2 separate regions of the Homo sapiens genome follow, and region 1 is linked to region 2. Evidence: promoter capture Hi-C in 16 types of primary human blood cells and fetal thymus (Javierre and others, 2016). All regions are on one chromosome and are shown on one strand. Each heading gives the region's core, a stretch centred on a gene start or on the middle of the fragment in contact. The rest is flanking DNA. Distances are from core to core; before and after follow the strand shown. Region 1 has its middle 32 kb from the start of KCNK17. Region 2 holds the start of GLP1R (glucagon like peptide 1 receptor).

The links. The method cuts DNA at HindIII sites, captures the fragments that hold promoters and counts their contacts. A CHiCAGO score of 5 or more calls a contact.
Region 1: a fragment that was not itself captured here is called in contact with the fragment with the promoter of GLP1R in region 2 in 1 of 17 cell types (activated CD4 T cells); the score reaches 5.7 in activated CD4 T cells.

The regions. Positions count from the first base shown.
Region 1 is chr6:39,280,135-39,285,644 of GRCh38, forward strand. No RefSeq gene overlaps it. Among named protein-coding and RNA genes, the nearest start is that of KCNK17, 32 kb to the right of the region's middle. The HindIII fragment of the contact is 2,589 bases long and covers 2,619-5,207 here.
Region 2 is chr6:39,046,214-39,051,894 of GRCh38, forward strand. It overlaps GLP1R (glucagon like peptide 1 receptor), which reads left to right and starts at 2,568. Exons shown (of 13, transcript NM_002062.5): 1 at 2,568-2,705. The coding sequence starts at 2,628. RefSeq lists an enhancer at 3,252-3,752. The HindIII fragment of the contact is 5,231 bases long and covers 1,897-5,681 here.

The DNA of each region.
Region 1 (5,510 bases), core at 2,663-5,162, 240 kb after region 2:
CTTGAGGCTTCAGGGTCCAAGTGAGAAGAAAAGACAAAAGACCCCACATACCCCAAGTCAGTCAGGTGACAGCAAGTACCCAGAAGGGCTGAGACAGAGGGTGTGAGGACAGCTCTGAGGAGGACATCAGGGGCTGCCAGAGAGCGGGGTGTGGCACGCAGGAGGGAAGAGAGGGCGTTCCAGGTGGGAGCCTGCAAGAGCCCAAACCGGATGTGGTTGAGTCAGGAAGGGCAGGAGTCAGAGGCTTGGACAGCAAATCACTGGCCCTGAGATCACCCCAGGCTTTCACCACTGTGCATTGGCCCCTGCATGGATCTAGGGCCAGCCCTGCTGCAGGGGCTCCCTGGGGACTGGGCGTCCCCTGGCCCAGACCCACCCCATTGCCTCTGTCCGTACAGGAGCTGCCTGTGACCAGCTGAGAGCAGCAACCTCTGGGGACAAGGCTATGTGGCTGCCAAGGCTGTGGCAGTAGCTGACTCTCACTCATCACTCTCCCTTTCAGTTTTCTTTCCGGGTTCACTTCAGGAGCTGTGATTTTCCTACGGCTGAGTCACCCAGGGAAGGGCAATAATAAAGGGTGATTAACAGTGTTTCAGTTCCTAGGATTTCCCATCTCAGTTTATATGAATTTGGAGCAAAGCCACAGAAGTACAGGTGGTGAGGGAGGCAAGGGCCTTTGCAGGGACCTAAGGAGACCACTCCCCTCAGACTAGGGTTCCCTGAGGAGAGGGCTGCGTCTCCCCTCAGACTGGGGCTCCCTGAGGACGGGGCTGCGTCTCCCCTCAGACTAGGGTTCCCTGAGGAGAGGGCTGCGTCTCCCCTCAGACTGGGGCTCCCTGAGGACGGGGCTGCGTCTCCCCTCAGACTAGGGTTCCCTGAGGAGAGGGCTGCGTCTCCCCTCAGACTAGGGTTCCCTGAGGAGAGGGCTGCGTCTCCCCTCAGACTGGGGCTCCCTGAGGACGGGGCTGCGTCTCCCCTCAGACTAGGGCCCTGAGGACGGGGCTGTATCTTCGTTCTATCCCTTCTACTGGGGCTTCCTGAGGAGTGGGTACAGCTCTCTTTCTTCTGTACCAGGTCCACTGTAGCCATGGGCCATTGGGTACCTCTGCAGAGGTCCTATTGGGCCCACGGACTAGAGCAGAGCAGATGGCCTGGGTCCGCCTGGTAGGGTCTCTCCTCACACCAGGAAAAGATGACGACACAGAAAGTCCCTCATTTCTCCCCCGTGCTTGTGCTTGCTCTTCGTTCCTTTCTCCTTCTCTCAGTCAGACCACAAAGGGCTACAGCCCTTTCCTGCATCTCTCACTGCCCCTCCCACTACCTGTCCACTCCCACCCAGCCCTTTGGTCACTGTTCTGACCCAGAGCCACCCTGGTACTCATTGACCAGGGGGCAAAGGTGCCAGAACTGGGCACTGCCAGCAAAACCAGAGCCCAAGTCAACTGTGCAAGGAGGGGCTTCTCTCCTGTCTCCTCTCCACTGCTGGCTGACTAAAGTCCACCTGGACTCTCCTTGGCTGCAATCCCCAATGGGAGCTGCCGGCTAGAGAGAACTGACTTGCGCTGCCATGGCAGGATAGGTGACAGGAACGACCTGCTGGGAGCCTAGACCAGCTCCAGGAGAGGTCACCTTCCACCAGTGAAAGACACTACCAACACTTCCACCACCTCTCAGTGCTGTGGGTGACCGGGAGCTGCTCCTTGAGGTGACACCTGTGTGGCCTGGGGGCCCCTTCCACACACTGCTGTTCGTTCCCAGCAGCAGATCCTGTTGCAGAGCCATCCTCGGGACTGCGGGTGTTAACGAAGCCTGTGATCTTCCTCAGACTTTTCCACCAGAGAGGCACCTGAAGGAGCCACACCACATTCCCCTGAAGGCTTGTGTGTGGGCGTGGGCTTGGCTCAAAACAGCCAACCCAGAGCACCAGTGGGATCGCAAGTCTTCCGTTTATTGAATATCCACACAGGCATCTTACATTCTACTTCATCATACTGTTTAATGTGAAAATAATATTTTCCTCACATTCTTTGAGCCAAATTGCTGCTCTAGGAAGGTGGGGCACATTCATCCTGTGGCTTTCCTGCCCTGGGCACAATGGTGCTAGTGCTGGGTGCCCAGAGCAGGTGGCCCAGGGGCCCAGGTAACTTCAGATTTGGTCCCAATGCAGACGCATCTCCCCACTCAGGTGTGCAAGAAGCGTCTCTATCCTTCCTGGCCTCACCTTTCCTGGTGATTCCTGTGGAAGGCAGATTGGGTCACCTGTTCACCCAGGGGGTGCTCTCTGGCTGCAGGATGCCCTGCAGCTCCTCCTCCCCACTGCCCTCCAGCCTGCTAGGCCTCTACTCCCGCATCATTGGCTGAGAAGTCCCTTTGTCAGAGGCTACTGAGCTCTGCTCCTGGGGAGAGAACAGACGGGAATCCTGCTCACGGATGAAGGCCCTAGTGAAGCTGTGGACAGTTGGGAGTGCATGTCTCATCCCATTCCAGGAGGTCTTGTCCTGCCATGGCCCGCCTTTGCAGGCATGCAGTGGGCTGTGCTGGCTCCTGGCAGTGGCTGTGGCCTCCTGGCCAGAATCTGGGCAAACCCTGAGAAGGAGGTGCTGTGAGCACCTGGGGGAAGCTTCCCTTTCCCTCCTCCATACCCAATACATCAACAAGACCCAATATTTCTGCTTCTCAAATGCTTCTTGAATCCATTTCACTTTATTCAAGGTAGGCTTTATACAAATCTTATCACATTATTTTGCTTAAAACCCTTCCTTCCATGACTTCACACCAGACTCCTCATATAAAGTTTAACTGGTTTGCCAATCTCACCCTCCTCGTCTCTCAGCTCTGTCTCAATGCTGACTTCTTCTTTTTTTCCTTTAGCAGCTTTGCACATGCTGTTCCCTCCCTGCATGGAGCACTAAGCATCTACCCTGACGTCCCTCTGTCCCTCATTGCCCTACCTGTCTCTTCCACATCTGGCCACTTTCTCCTTCCTCCTCCCTTCCCAGCTTCCCAATTCCTCAGGCCAGGGTGGCTCTCAGAGCACTTTTCCACCTGGTTGGTGTTACTTGCTAGATGTTAACTGAGGTCCTTATTTCCTCAGGAGGACCATGACAAAGCAGAAAGCAGAAAAGTCACTGGACTTTGTGTCCTGAATCCTAAGCCCTTAGGGGAACTGAAAGGTTTAAGTCATTAAAAAAAAAAAGGGGAGACATTAGAAAAAAAAAAAGTAAACTGGACCATTCCCCACTCTTGTGGTAGCTTGTATTTTTCAAACGTGGCCATGGCCATAGTTTCTTTTCCACATGCTCTTCCAGAACCTTTCCAATCAAGAGTTGGATATTTCCTCATCCCATTGAAACTGAGTGGGATCTTGAGACGACTAGGTGGACAGAATGTGGCGCAAGCCTAATCTTCCCAGGGTAGGTCATTGCAGCAGTTCAGCTTCTCTCTCTCTTTCTGTCCATACTCACCCTTGAAAACCAGCCGCCGTGTTGTCAGGAAGCCAAGGCCACATGGGGAGGCCACCTGTACATATTCTAAGTTTTCAGCCAACAGCCAGGCATGTGAGTGAATCTTCAGATGATCTTGCTGCAGCCTTCCAGCTTCCCCAGCGGATGCCCAGCAGAACAGAAGTGTCCCCGCTGAGCCCTGCCTGAATTGTGAATTTTTTTGTTACATATCCACAGTAACTGAATCCCACCCTGCTCCCCATCCCTTCCTTGACTTGATAAATACTTTTCCTGGACTAGAAGAAAGGAGGTGATGGCAGAAAAGGAGTAGGCAGCATTGACAACAGATATATTCTCCTTCTACCTCATTTGAGGCAGCACTTGAAATAAAGATGGCATTATTAGAAAATAAAGAACATTATATTATGGCCAGGTGCAGTGGCTCATGCCTACAATCCCAGCACTTTGGGAGGCCGAGGTGGGCAGATCACCTGAGGACTGGAATTCAAGACCAGCCTGGCCAATATGGCGAAATCCTGTCTTTACTGAAAATACAAAAATTAGCTGGGTGTGGTGACCAGCACCTGTAATCCCAGCTACTCAGGTGGCTAAGGCAGGAGAATCACTTAAATCCGGGAGGCGGAGGGTGCAGTGAGCAGAGATCGCGCCATTGCCCTCCAGCCTGGGCGACAGAGTGAGACTCTGTCTCAAAAAAAAAAAAAAAAAAGAATAAAGAACATTATATTTTTCCTTTCACACACAGAACTGGGATTGCCTGTTGATGTGTTTGTGTCCGTGGCCCCATATCTGTATCCTCAATAGGCCCTGCCTGTCATTGTCTTGGTCCCTGTGACAACTCAGCTTAGAATAAGGCCTGTTATAGAGGAGATGCTTGATAAATATATGGCGATTAATGAATGAATCAATGATCAACGATTGAAGAGTGAATGAGTGAAACCCGAAGCCCTGTCATCATGAACTTTTTATAAAGATCTTGGTCATTGATTCAAAGAATACTCTCCTAAGTCAGACCGAGAGACTCTTTTTATAAATAAGGACACTGAAGTCCAGGGAGGGCAGGGATTGGCCCAAGGCCTCATGTCCAGCCAGTGGCAGAGCTGATCTAGAACTTGTCCAGGTGCCCAGCTCATGCTCTGCCCATCCATTCCTCACTGGCCCTGACTGCTGGGCCAGTCGGGCCCTGGAAAGGCTGGACTGGGTGGCAGTTGTTATCGCGTCTTTTTGTTGTTTTTGTTTTTGTTTTTGAGAGAGTCTTGCTCTGTCGCCCAGGCTGGAGTGCAATGGTGCGATCTCAGCTCACTGCAACCTCCATCTCCTGGGTTCAAGTGATTCTCCTGCCTCAGTCTTCCAAGTAGCTAGGATTACAGGTGCCTGCCACCATGCCTGGCTAAGTTTTGTATTTTTAGAAGAAATGGGGTTTTGCCATACTGGCCAGGTTGGTCTTGAACTCCTGGCCTCAAGTGATCCACCCACCTTGGCCCCCACAAAGTGCTGGGATTACATGTGTGAGCCACTGTGCATGGCCAGTTGTTGTGTCTTTGCTGTCATTATCTGCCCAGGAGTCTACTGGCTGGGCTGGTCCTGGCCTCTCAGGGGCAAAGGGACAGAGGCAGACAGGGAGCCCTTGTAGGTTGGGGATGGGACCAGGAGGAGGTGTTGTGAAAGAGGACCTGGCATGCAGGTCATCCATAAATATTGGTTGAGTTGAATTGAAATAAACACCCAAATAGATATATAATGACAAGCTTGCATGGTAAGTGCCATGAGATTTCAGGGAGATGTGAGGACCTACGAAGCGGGTTATGGCCTCTTTCTGGGAAGCCCTGTAAGGAGATGGCCTGGAGCTGAGCTCTACTGGAGAGGAGAGTGGGTGTGTGGGATGGGGTGAGTGGAGGCTCTGCCCATGTTCTAGGCAGTGTCTGAGGAACCAGGAGAGCTGATACCTACTGCAGAGAGGGGAGAGCAGAGTATGGTGGTGACAGAGAAGCCAAGGCAGGCAAGGTAGGTGGAGAAGCCAAGGCAGGCAAGGTGGCCTGGAGGCCATGT
Region 2 (5,681 bases), core at 1,318-3,817:
CCTCCCAGGTTCAAGCGATTCTCCTGCCTCAGCCTCCCGAGTAGCTGGGATTACAGGCATGGACCACCACGCCCGGCTAATTTTGTATTTTTAGTAGAGATGGGGTTTCTCCATGTTGGTCAGGCTGGTCTCGAACTCCCAACTTCAGGTGATCCGCCCACCTTGGCCTCCCAAAGTGCTGAGATTACAGACGGTGAGCCACCATGCCCAGCCAAATTGTTTATGTGAGGTGTGACCCCGGAAGCACTGGTACCCTACTGTGGGAAAGTGGGACAAGTGAGGAAATGAAGCCAACACAGGGTGCATTACTGAGCAGGTAACTGCTGTGGGAAGCTGGGCTCCATCGCACAGGGGACCTCTGGGAGACTGTGGTACACACCTCTGGATGGGGTATTTATCCATCCACTCCTGTCCATCCATGGTTGACAGCTGCTCTTAGGGGTACCTACCCTGCACTGGCTGAATGCAAAAATGTTCTCCAAGTCAGAGAAAGCCCCCTGGCAGAGAAAACATGGCCTTATAAGTACTGGGGGCATTTGCTTACCATAATAGTGCTTACACAATTATAAATGACTCCAATAATTATTTAATGTTTCCCTCCTGTATTAGAATATAATCTCTCTGAAGATAGGGACAGCATCACCAATTGTATCCCCAGGACCTAGAATGGTGTCTGGCACATGGTAGGTTTTCGATAGATACTTGCTGAATCAATGTAATCTGGAGGCTGACAAATTCATGATAAAGACCCCAGTTCTGTCTGAATAGCTTCTCTATCTCTTCCTTTCTCCTCTCTCCACCCTAAACTTGATATAGCAGTGCCTAAAACTCACTTCCAGTATCTTTTTTAAAATTTGCCTTCTTCTAGAGTATAAAAGCCCAGTATTTAACCTTGCCCATGGTTGCCTGGAATAGAGGGTGCTTTTCCCACCCTCCTTTGCAGCTAGCAGTGCCTATGTGACTAAGTTCTGAGCAAGAGGTGTGGAATTGATGGCTGCCACTTTCAAGATGTGTCTTTATGGGTGGAGGTGCACCCATCTCCTTCCCATTCCTCCTTCCTGCTGGTTGGAATTTGGATATCGTGGCTGGAGCAGCCACCTTGGATCATGAGGTGGAAATCTTGGACCAAAGGATGGTGGAAGCTAGAAGACCCAGGCACCCTGATGATCAGGGAGCAGCCACTCCAACCTTGGGCTGAACCTCTGGCCTTGCTTTACATGAGAGAGCCCTTGGTTATGCCATTGTTGTTTGGGGTGGGATTTTCTGTCACTCCCAGGTGAACAACCTAATCCTAAGTGATACCTAGAAGGTCCCTGCTAGACTGACCTCTTGGGAGGGGAGGGAATAAACGAGTCTCAGGTGGTGGAACCAGAGCTTGCTGGAGAGGAGAGTCTCTCCTGGTGAATGGAAGCCAGGGGCCCCTCCCACTGGCTGTCTCCTTCCCTGGGCTCAGGCAGGTCCAGCCTTCCTCAGGACTTTGAGAAGTTCAGTTCTCTCCCCAGGAGTAGCTACTTTCACAAACTTCCTGTCCCTTTAGTCGACATGCCCCACGGCAGGTCCGAGGCTGGGCTCTGCCACAACTCATCTTTCCTAAGAGTGGCATCAAGGTTCTTTGGTGGGGGATCCTCTTTTCCCATCCCCACTTCTCAAGAGCATTAGGGAAGATACAGTCAGTGCCCTCTTAGCATTCTCTTTCCACTTGTTGGGTGTAAGAAGGGAACCTGAGGGCCCTGCAGTGTTTAGGGGTGGGAGTGGAAACAGACAGGAAAGATCCAGAGTCCCCAAGAAGCGAAGCAGGGAGAGAGATAAAGAAGGCAGGAACAACCATGGACACACATTATCACACATACACAGGTTACAAGAGCAGGAGGCTGGAGCTGCAAGAGGTGGCAGGGAAGCTTCCAGAAAGGCAGACCCCAGCCTCATCCCTCCCTGCCCTGCAATGCTGAAGTTTCCAGGTAGAGGGGAACCTCTAGACCCTTGCGACTGTCAGAGTTCTGTGGATCCATTTGTCAGTCTCCCCACCCCCAACCTTGACTATCCTGGGCCTGCCTTCAGGACAGAACATGGGAATGAGAAGAGGACCTGGGAAGGGGTAATCCTGGGAAAAAAAAGTTCTTATTAGTCACCCCTGGCTCTGAGGATACTTTCCAGGAGTGGCCTGCCAAGCCGTGTGACCTTGGACAAGTCCCGTCCATTCCTCAGGCCTCAGTTTCCTTTGAGGGACCCTGAATGGGCGGGGGTTGCTGTAGCTTTCCTCAGCTGGGAGACCCGGGAGGAGGTCCGGGGTGCCAGGGTGGGAGGAGGGCCTGGCTTGTCGCTGAAAGCCGGCCAGGCGCACTGTCGGCGCTCAGAGCTGGTGGCCGCCTCCTGCGCTTCCTGATTCCCAGCCGCGCTCGCTCGGAGAGCAGTGCCCGCTATCTCCTGGCCCGGGACCGGCAGAGGGGTGCGGCGGGGCGGGCCCAGGGGTCTCTGGCGGCCGGAAGAACCGGGACCCTGCCAGGCCCCTCCCGCGGGCAGGGCGGCCCCTCGCCGGCTCCTCCCCCACCGCCCGCCACCAGCCCGGGATCAGTCTCCGCACGCGGTTCCGCAGGTGGCAGCGATGGCCCAGTCCTGAACTCCCCGCCATGGCCGGCGCCCCCGGCCCGCTGCGCCTTGCGCTGCTGCTGCTCGGGATGGTGGGCAGGGCCGGCCCCCGCCCCCAGGTGAGATCCAGGGACCCCGACGACACCGGGGGAGGCGGGTGGCTCTGCGGGCTGCAGGCGCAGTGTCCTGGTGGAGGGCCCCGGGACTTGAACGAAACTCCGAGACCGCTGGCGGGGGCATCCGAAAGCCTCGGGGGGAGTAGGGACTGGAGACTTGGTGCCCCTGGGCTGGAAGGCCCAGGTGAGGGCTTGGACTACAGAGGATTCCCCCCAACCCCAGCGAGGCGCCCTCTTCCTCGCCACCCGGGTCCCTCTGCCCGGGCACCCGCTGCCCCGCGGCCGCCCTGCGCTGACTTCTGCTCCGCTTCTCCTTTGTCCCCAGCACTTTCCCAACTCCTTCTAAACCGTGTCAGCGGCCCTGGCACAGCCCGGCATCCTCCCGGACTCCCTCTGCCCCACAGTCTGACCCAGACCCCTCTCCCGCAGTGCCTCCCCAGACAATCCACCTGCTCAAAGACCCTGAGAAGACCCTGGGAGGAGCTGAGAGGGCCAGGGTGCGGAGACCCGGCTCCTCTCCCTTTCTCATCAGCCCCCAGCACAGCCTTTGATTCATGGCTCCTGGGGCCCTGCGGTGGCAGCTTGTCCTTCCCAGTGACCTCCCAGATGGAACCTACCCCCCGTCCCCTACCAGCCTCTGTAGCAAACAGGCAGAAGGCTCAGTGCCCCCCTGGAAGCAGCCAGGCGCCCCCACTCACCCACTCTGCTGACCTCCCATTCTCATCCTGCACTGACAGCAGGCCCCAAGAGAAGGCATACTGGGACACGCAAGAACACCTGGGCTCCTTGGTGCCACCAGAGAGCAGGCCACAGGTGGACCACCGCAGCCCCTCTCTCTTGCCCTTGTTGCTTTTCCTGCCCTGGGATCCTGGGCTAGGGACAGTGGTCAGCTGCTTTTGAAGAGGGGAGCTGTCCAAAGATGCTGGGACTTGCTTGAGCAGAGAGGAGACATAGACTTGGGTGGCCTGTCCTGGGTCAGGAAACAGGTTCTTCCTATCACCTCCCACTGCTACCCCCAGACCTAAAGAACTGAGATCTGTGGGGAGTGGACCTGAACGAACCTTGAAGTTTGTCCCAGAACCATTGCCTTGGTGAGGGCAGACTCCACCTCGGCGGAAACCCCAGATGTGGACAGACATACCTCTCAGCTAAGATGCCAGCACATTTTTCAGCCCCCAGATTATTTTCCAGACGCATCCTCTCCCTGCCCCTGTTCCCCAGCCCAGCTGCTGTCCTGAGCCCCAGGAGACAACCTCCCCCTTCCAAGACACCTTCCTCACAGCGCCCCCAGCCAGGCCTTGGTTTTCCTGGTGCGGCTGGGATCTTTCAGGGGCCAGGGCTGCAGACCCAAGATGTGGTTCTTGCCCATCGTTCCCTCCTCTTACGGACTGGGTTGGGATAGGGGTGGAGGCTCTGCTTCCTGGTTCCATCCTCCTCCAGGCCAGGTTTACAGGTCTGGTTTGAATGAAGGGAAGAAAGCAAAGGGAAGAGGAAAGTTTCTGTGAGCTGTCTTCCCAGAGGCCTTATTCCCAGAAGTGTCAGGCTCCTGAACCCACACTTTCCTCTGATCCGATTTTACTCCTTAGCCCCAGGCCTAAGGCAAAAGCTGGGCATCCTGGGGGCATAACAGGATTGGGGTGGTAGAGAAGGATAGGAGGGGACAGGTCCTAGCAGGGAGGGGAGCTTTGAGGGGGTGCTCTTGTCATGGGAAACTGAGCTGCCACAGAGATCTGAGTCACAGGAGGTGTTAAGGATAGATTGCAACAATTATGACACAACATCATGCGTGCTTATAAGACTAAAAAATAGTGTATTTTGCATTTTGTTTTCTGTCTATGAAGTCAAAAGGGTTAGAGTTACTCCCCTCATGTTGCTGATGGGGGAATGAAAGCTCAGAAAAAGAGGGTCCCCTGTATAAAGTAGCCCAGCAGTTCAGGAGCAGGGAAGAGAAAGGGGTGAAGGGCTGGGCTCTTGACCTAACACCTCCTACTCAGACGGGACTGAAGGGAGACCTCTGAGAGTGAGCTGCTCACTGTCAGGTCTCGTGAGGCTGGAAACAGCATCCCTGCAGGTAGGGGGATGGCTGAGTTGACTTCTGAAGAAGGTGCCCTAGGCTACTCTTTCATTGCTGCTGGGAAGGCTCATTCCCCTACCCTGGTCCTTACCTCTCCAATACCCTGGTGAGGGAGCGGGCCTACTGAGGAGACAGGCAAGCCTTTGACACTCAAAGTTAAAATCAGACACAACTGGATTCAAATATAGGGTCTGCTATTAGCTGGTGATCTGGAGTTGGACACTTGGTTATCCCCAATACATGTCCTTATCTGTAAATAAGGATCATAAGCTCTATCACATAGGGTTATGGAGGGGATTGAGACACTGGCCCCTGAAATGGCAACTTTAGTCACTTTAGTCAAATGGCAGAACTGACCCATTTGTCCTTGGGGATCCAGAAGTGTTTTCCAGGGCTGCAGGATAGTATGAGAGAGGGGCTGTTGGAGACCCTGGGTCTCTGTACTCTAGTGAATGGCAGGTGGAGTCCAGGGCTGAGCCTTGATCAGTGCGGACATTGTTCTAAGCTGGGTTTCCTCCTGGACAGGACCCAGGCTGGGGGCTGGGGCAGGAGCAACCAAGAAACCACATCCTGCCCTCGAATGCCTTGCACCAAGGCAAAACAGGCTTCCTCAGCTGCAGCCTGCCCCTAGGAAAATTCCTATGTGTGTGTGGTGGTGGTGGTGGTTGGAGGAGGGGACAGAGATACAGACAGGTAGTCTGAGACAGACCAGGGGGAGAAGGGAGTAGGCTATATGAACCCCCAGTTCCCAGGTATGTGTGAGTGACCCTGTGTGTAACAGTCTGTGTGGGAATGAGTCCCTGTGTGTGCAACATCTCAGCATGCAACTGTACATCTGACAGTGTCTATGTTTTTGTGACCCTGCATATGATACTGTGTCTGTGGGAGGGTCTGTGTGTGTGTGT